Regions from separate parts of the Homo sapiens genome. Here region 2 is linked to region 1. Evidence: promoter capture Hi-C in 16 types of primary human blood cells and fetal thymus (Javierre and others, 2016). All regions are on one chromosome and are shown on one strand. Each heading gives the region's core, a stretch centred on a gene start or on the middle of the fragment in contact. The rest is flanking DNA. Distances are from core to core; before and after follow the strand shown.

The links. Contacts are between HindIII fragments. The CHiCAGO score rates a contact against its expected background, and 5 or more counts as called.
Region 2: a contact is called between a fragment that was not itself captured here and the fragment with the promoter of TERB1 in region 1, in 2 of 17 cell types (M2 macrophages and total B cells). The highest score is 6.1, in M2 macrophages.

What each region holds. Positions count from the first base shown.
Region 1 is chr16:66,799,447-66,802,882 of GRCh38, reverse strand. TERB1 (telomere repeat binding bouquet formation protein 1) reads left to right here and starts at 1,299. Exons shown (of 19, transcript NM_001136505.2): 1 at 1,299-1,415; 2 at 1,830-1,906. NAE1 (NEDD8 activating enzyme E1 subunit 1) reads left to right here. Exons shown (of 20, transcript NM_003905.4): 20 at 1-5. The HindIII fragment of the contact is 6,773 bases long and covers 1-2,324 here.
Region 2 is chr16:66,397,886-66,401,308 of GRCh38, reverse strand. CDH5 (cadherin 5) reads right to left here. Exons shown (of 12, transcript NM_001795.5): 9 at 3,203-3,327; 10 at 2,748-2,853; 11 at 293-538. Among named protein-coding and RNA genes, the nearest start is that of LINC00920, 8.9 kb to the left of the region's middle. The HindIII fragment of the contact is 1,106 bases long and covers 902-2,007 here.

The sequences.
Region 1 (3,436 bases), core at 50-2,549:
TGTAATAATGTAGTCTTGTTCTTTGTGGGGAGGGGAAAGGAGACAGTCATTTTCCTAGAAAATGAATCCTATCCATTTCTCACTGAGCATCAATATTGGCTTGCTATTTCAAAGTTACTTGTCATAGATTATCCTTGTGTTTTATTAGAGATAATTAAAAATTTTTTTTCTTACCATCTTCAATAATGAATTTAAGCCATGTGCAGATGTTAGCTATGGACATTTTAGGACCATCATCATTTGTTAAAATGAATAGAATTTAAAAAGATATTTCTGGATATGTAGTTTTCCCAGAAAACAAGACCATCCCCTTGTATGTAGTATTATCTTAATTAACTTGAGTTTTGGCTGCCTAACCTACTTCTTGAAATTTTATGGGGTCATTCTACTCATATTATATATACTCTTAAATTTAATCACATGGGACTAATAGCATTCACCAGCATATTAGAGGGCAAAAAAAAAAAGGAAGTAGTAGATGCAAACAGAGTGGAAATCCAGAATCCAGAAGTGGGGGCAGTTCCCGGTTTTGGGCTTGATGTATTAATACTTAGGGCTGAGGAACGTGGTCCGTGGTGCATGACTCTTAGTAGCTAAGGCCCCTAATCTGCTGCAACTGTCTCTGAGGCCAGCGTCTCTTAAGTGAGAACCTGTTAGATTTGCTAGGGTACCTCACAGGGACTTGGTTTTCCAGACGCTAATGTGTCAGCCATTCTTTGGCTGTTCTTCACTGTATCGGGGACCTTCCCCTCGCCTTCATCGCCTAGCAGTCCCATGGGCTGCATTTTACGGCAGAGGCGGCAAGGGACAGGCCTTGGCCCCACTCTGATCCTTTGGTCCAGGCGCGGAGAAGTCCTCCTGGACTGAACTCCGGAAGCCCCCTGGTGAGGTGGAGGCCTGGCTGCCCCTGTGGGGCTGTGGTGACGATTAGCGAGGTGCCCAACAAAAGGGAGAACACACAGCACAGATGCCAGGTGGAGGGGAGGTTGGGGCTTCGCCGTCCTGTGCTTCGCGGCCACCGTCCCATAGCCAGGCCTCGTCAACCGCGTGCACAGTCCCCTAATTTTGGGGCTAATGCTCGTCTGAGGTAAAAACCCTAAAAACCGGGGGCGGTGAGATTTCTCTTTCAAATTGTAGCTTTTTAAAAAATCTTGCGGCCGGGACACCGACCACCCCATTGCCCTTGGCAACCTAGGGCACCCGCGGAAGCGTAAGACACCTTGCAGGGGCGGCGGGGCTGCCGGCCGGAAGTCCCGCCCACGGACGTGAGCCTGGTCGGCTGGGCGGGAAACCCTGTCGTGCGTCGTGGCAGGTGAGCGGTGATGAAGAAAGGGCGGAAGCTCCCGCTTGAGGGTAGACGCCACGGCCTCCGCTCCCGCGCGTTGTTGTCCTGCCTTACCGCGCTTGGAAACTCTGTATGTTGGCGCCTGTGTAAGGCGGGTTGGGCCGGCCAGGATGTCTTACCGCCCCGTCAGGCCCTTAGCCCACGTGAGAAGGGTCGAGTTGGGGGGACGGGGCCTTTATGAGCAGGTGCCAGGCCCCGGCTGTAGTCCCCACAGCCCTTGGCGGGAAGAGACAGTCATCACGTGATGCACCATTTAGAGACGTGTAAAGCCTGGCAGTATTCCCCCCTATTTCACTTCTGACTCCCCAGGCGCCTCCCCAGGTGACTTTGATGTGTGGAGAGGGTGGGACCCACCGGTGAGGTCGTTTCCCAGGGCCAGGGCCGGGCCGCATGTCACACAGCACCTGAGCGGGGAGGGCCTGCTGAGGGTGCTGATGGCTCACGAGTGGCCCGCGCGGCTAACCAGTGTCCTGCTCCCACGCAGGACTTGCGAGCCCTGGTCAGAGAGGAGCCTGGAGGGGCCACCTAAGCTCTGCACAAGGAATTCATCCAACTCTGTAGGTGAGCGGGCCGCAGGCTGAATGGGCAGGAAGCCGGGCGGGGTGAGCGCCCCCGCCTTGGAAAGGTTACGTGTCTGTTACCTGTGGAACCTGGGAGGAGGCCCTGAGGATTTATGCTCTGGGCTGGAGTGGGGGGGTGTTCATATTGCAGAGCCAGCTGACTTCTGGTACCCACAGTGCGTTTTCTGGGACCTGAATGACTGTTATTTCTTGACCGTTTAAACGATCGAAAACAAATTTGCCCCTTCTCTCTTCTTGCGTCTTCTTTAGAGGGTATTTTCGCTATATATAATTACAAGCTGGATATCCGCTGACAAAAAACAATTTAGTGGTGGGATTATCAGCCCTGCCAGCCTTACACAAAAAGATGCCATTTATCTTTCTGATATACTGGGATAATATTTCGATTTCAAAAAGCTTTCTTGGCCTTGGTGTGGTGGGCGCCTGTAATCCCAGCTACTGGGGAGGCTGAGGCAGGAGAGTCGCTTGAACCCGGGAGGCGGAGGTTGCAGTGAGCCAAGATGGCGCCACTGCACTCCAGCCTGGGCGACAGAGCCAGACTGTCTCAAAAAAAAAAAAAAAAAACTTTCTTTATTTTTATTTATTTATTTTGAGACAGGGTCTCCCTCCATCATCCAGGTTGGCGTGCAGTGGCGCGGTCTTGGCTCACTGCAACCTCCATCTCCTGGGCTCAAGGGATCTTCCCACCTCAGCCTCCCAAGTAACTGGGATTACAGGTGCGTGACCACGCCCAGCTAATTTTTGTACTTTTCTTTGGTAGAGACGGGGTTTCACCATGTTGGCCAGGCTGGTCTCCAACTCCTGGCCTGAAGTCTTCCGCCCACCTCGGCCTCCCAAAGTGCTGGGATTACAGGCGCGAGCTACCACGCCCGGCCCCCCAAAAGCTTTTGTATACATTTTCTAAATCAGGTAAACAAGTAATATTCAGCTACTTTTCTTGCTGAAATTTGAATTTGAGTTAACACTACTGTTTTGGGGAGTGGGTTGAGTGAAACGTGTAAGTGGGAGAGGTTCTCTCTGTCATCCAGAAAAAAATCCTTTTTTCCTGTGAGAATACAGTAAAGAATTTTGAAATCTCCTTGTTTGTGGCAGTACATATATTCACTAAATTACTAAAAGCACTTCATAATCTGCTTTATATGGCAGATGCTTTTGTTCTTGAGAATATACTTGTTTTATAATTTTAAATATAATTTTCTGATTATCAATCCCTTGAAAGTTATAACTTATCCTTTGCTATGGGTGTTTGTAAGCACTTCTCAAGTAAATAGATGACTTGTGTTAATGCTACCAAGTACTTGGCAAACTCTTTTTGTGCAAAGTAACCATTTATAAGAAAAAAGTATAAAAACAAAGGGAGAAAAGAGTGTGGGTGACCAGTTTTAATTTTAAAGCATTTAGGTTTAAAAGTTATACATTACCCCTCTTAGGCCAGGCACGGTGGCTCACACCTGTAACCCCAGCAATTTCGGAGGCCGAGGCGGGTGGATCACCTGAGATCAGGAGTTCG
Region 2 (3,423 bases), core at 205-2,704, 400 kb after region 1:
GACTGTTATGTATAAGTTATTTTAAAGTGATACTGGCCTGATGCGTGGGGGAGGAGTCCTGAGTCCCACCCCCTCCTCCTCCCTGGCTCATCCCCCACCGTGAGCACCCAGGTGGTTGGAGCTCACATCCTGCATCCTGCACATGAACTGGCTAAGGGCTGCATTGCAGATTGGAGGCAGGGTTGGGCCTGAACCTCTGGCCTCTACTTTTCCTGTGAAGCCTCCCCGCCTCCCAACACCTTCCATCCCCTTCCACCCACTGTGTCTTCTCCCCACCCTGCCCAGCACTGACCTGTGATGGTGAGGATGCAGAGTAAGATGGCTACCACTGCCTGGATGCTCACGCCCACCTGGGCGGCCATATCCTCGCAGAAGGTGAACTCGCCCTGCTCGTTGCACTTGCACACGGCCACGGTCAGCGTGCTGGTGCCCGTGCGACTTGGCATCCCATTGTCTGAGATGACCACGGGTAGGAAGTGGACCTTGGTATGCTCCCGGTCAAACTGCCCATACTTGACTGTGATGTTGGCCGTGTTATCTGGAAACACCAAGGCCTCGGAGTCAGGCTTTGCCATCTGCACAGATGGGGAAACCTGGCTCCTCCAGGAAGCCCTCCCTGACTGCACCAGCCTGCGTGCTCCCTGGGCTGCTTTTCTGCCCTTTGCACCCAGCGCCTCTTGTTTCAGCCATCTGAGTGCAGGTCTGTTCCGCCACAGAGGGGATATTTTGGGGCAGCTGCTTTGACCCAATCTCCAAGGATGCCTTGGTGAAAGAAGGTCAAATCCTTTGCTTTCTGTATTTGTGGGCAACTGATGCCTCTCCCCTTCCTCTTCCCTAACCCCACTCCAGTAACAGGAGGTTTTCTCTTTCAGCTCAATTAATTAATGCTCCGTTTCAAGCTTTGACAAGCAGCGGGGAAAAATAAAGTTTTAAAAAGTCTTTTAGCATTAGGCTAATTTCTAAGGCAGCTTCTGCTCTCTCTGAAAATCCATTGTTACATTGTTGAAAACAGTAAAAACAATGGACATGTCCCTTGGGGCACAGAGAAAATGATTACATATAGAATTGCGGGTTTCCCAGGCAGTTTGGAACTGGGAAATGCTTTTGTCCAAATATTGGCCCCGCCCACCTTCCCAGATCCAATCAGTGGTTTCCTGTACCCAAGAATCCCCCAGGGAGCTTTTAAAACATGCTGATTTTCAGACCCCTATGCTCACACACACTTCTTATTCAGTGGTTCTGGGCAGAGGCCAGATAATCTGCCTTTTGCAGGGTCCCAGGAGGTTGTAATGTCAACGATCAGAGAAGGATCCAGGAACTCCCTACTCCAGGATTTACTTAGCTACACAGGCTCCACACACTGGATTGAAAAACCCAGGAATCCATCTTTTCGATTTTGAATGAAAGCCAATTATATTTCATTATTCATAATTACATTTCAGCATTAAGTCTATTATATTTCAAAATAAACTATATGTCATTGACACTTATGGGAGAAACTAGAGATTTTGACATGCAGGATGTTCATGATATAAGTGAATTTGACACCAACAGACTTGCCTCCTATTGTATATGGGTGTCTTTGGGGTGGCACTGAATCTTTCTACTGTATTGCAGATCCCCACTCTGAGATGGGACTGAGGTGGACATTGGGGAGGGGGTGACATTTTTGCCACATTATTTACTTCTAATGACAACTGGGTGTTGAATGGTCTGTCATTGACTGTCAACACATCAGGGCCACCTTCTCCATCCCACAGGAGTCTCCTTAAGGACTGGTCTGTGGTTGATCCCTCAAGTCTGCCTCCAACTTTCAGGGACCCCACTCCCCAGTCTTCCTTAAATGTAGTAATGGGCTGCTGCAATACAGCCATCCTCATCCACCATAGTTTTGCCCATTAGGGACAGGCAGGAATTCCATCCCATGCTAGGTGAAGGATCACTCTATTTAAACCCAAGGGGAATTTTCTCTATTTTTTTGAGGAAATTTCAGAGGCCATGGAAGCTTGCCTACTTGTGGCTGGAATGAAGTCAACTCAGCATCATCACTTAAGTCAGCACCTACTCCTCAGAAGCTCTGATTGGCTGCTAATGCCATCACACGGGCCACCCTGCTAATCGTGAGTAATCGTTGTAGCTGAATTAAAACAAAGCTCACTGGATCCTTGGGATTTAGGATTTCACATTTCCAGTTTTGACTCTTTGGGAATGACCTCAAAGTTCCATGTTTAATGTGCAGTTTTGCTGACCCATAGAGCCTCCAGTATGGGAGGGGACTCCTTGGCTAGTTCTTGAACTGAGCTGACTGCCTGCATCCTCACATCTGTTCTGTACTCCTCGCTGGCTCCTTGCAGGCGACGTGGACTTGGGAGTTTGGATGGAGTGTCTCTGACCATTGCATAGACCAATTGTACAATGTATGTGGCAGAAATTGTACAAAATATCTAATGATTTGAAAATCCCAGTGGGAGCCTGCCCTCAATTTGTTGGCCTGGTCTTTGACCTTGGTGCCTCAAGACTCAAATAACCTCACCCCGACCCTGTTAGAGCCAACTGACTGCATTTGTTCTTTTTTTGGAGACGGGGTCTCGCTCTGTCGCCCGGGCTGGAGTGCAGTGATGTGATCATAGCTCACTGCAGCCTCAAACTCCTGGGCTCAAGCGATCTTCCTGCCTCAGCCTCCTGAGTAGCTGAGACTACAGGTGTGGGTCATCACGCCCAGCTGAACTGATTACTTTGATGCCTACCGTGATTATCCGTGAGGGTAAAGTTGTTCTCAGTATTCAAGATGAATTTGAACTTCACGTTTCGTGGTGTTATGTCCTTGTCTATTGCGGAGATCTGCAGGACCAGCTGGAGTGTGGAAGACAGGAGATGGTCAGTGATGGTGGTGGGGTGGTGGGGTGGTCTGAGGTTTAGCGATGGAGCCTTTGGGTTTAAGTCCTGACCATGGCTGTTTCCCACCTGCAACACTCACCTATTTAGTTCTTCATAAAGCCATTCTTTCTACTTCCCTGCCCCGCCAATCTACTCCCCATATATTCCCTCTGAGCCTCAGTTTCTCCATCTGTAAAATGGGCATAATGTTATTTTCCTCAAGGCTATTGTACAGGGGAACTCCTGCTGACTCTGTTGAGCAGTTCTGCCCCCCAGCCTGCCCCAGGGTGGTGCTGCCTTCCCCTCCCACCTGAACCAGACTCACCTGGCCATGGACAGCGTTCTCACACACTTTGGGCTGGTAGGGCTTGGCAAACTCCGGGGCATTGTCATTCTCATCCAAAACTTCAATGTGGACTTGCACAATGGATTCTTTTCCTGTGGGGGTTCCTGCAGGGGAGAAGACTGTCACCATTATGGGCTCAGCTGATGCTGGCCTTGGGCGGTGGAAGATGTGTGGAAGGAGGGCTGCCCTATGGAGGCCAC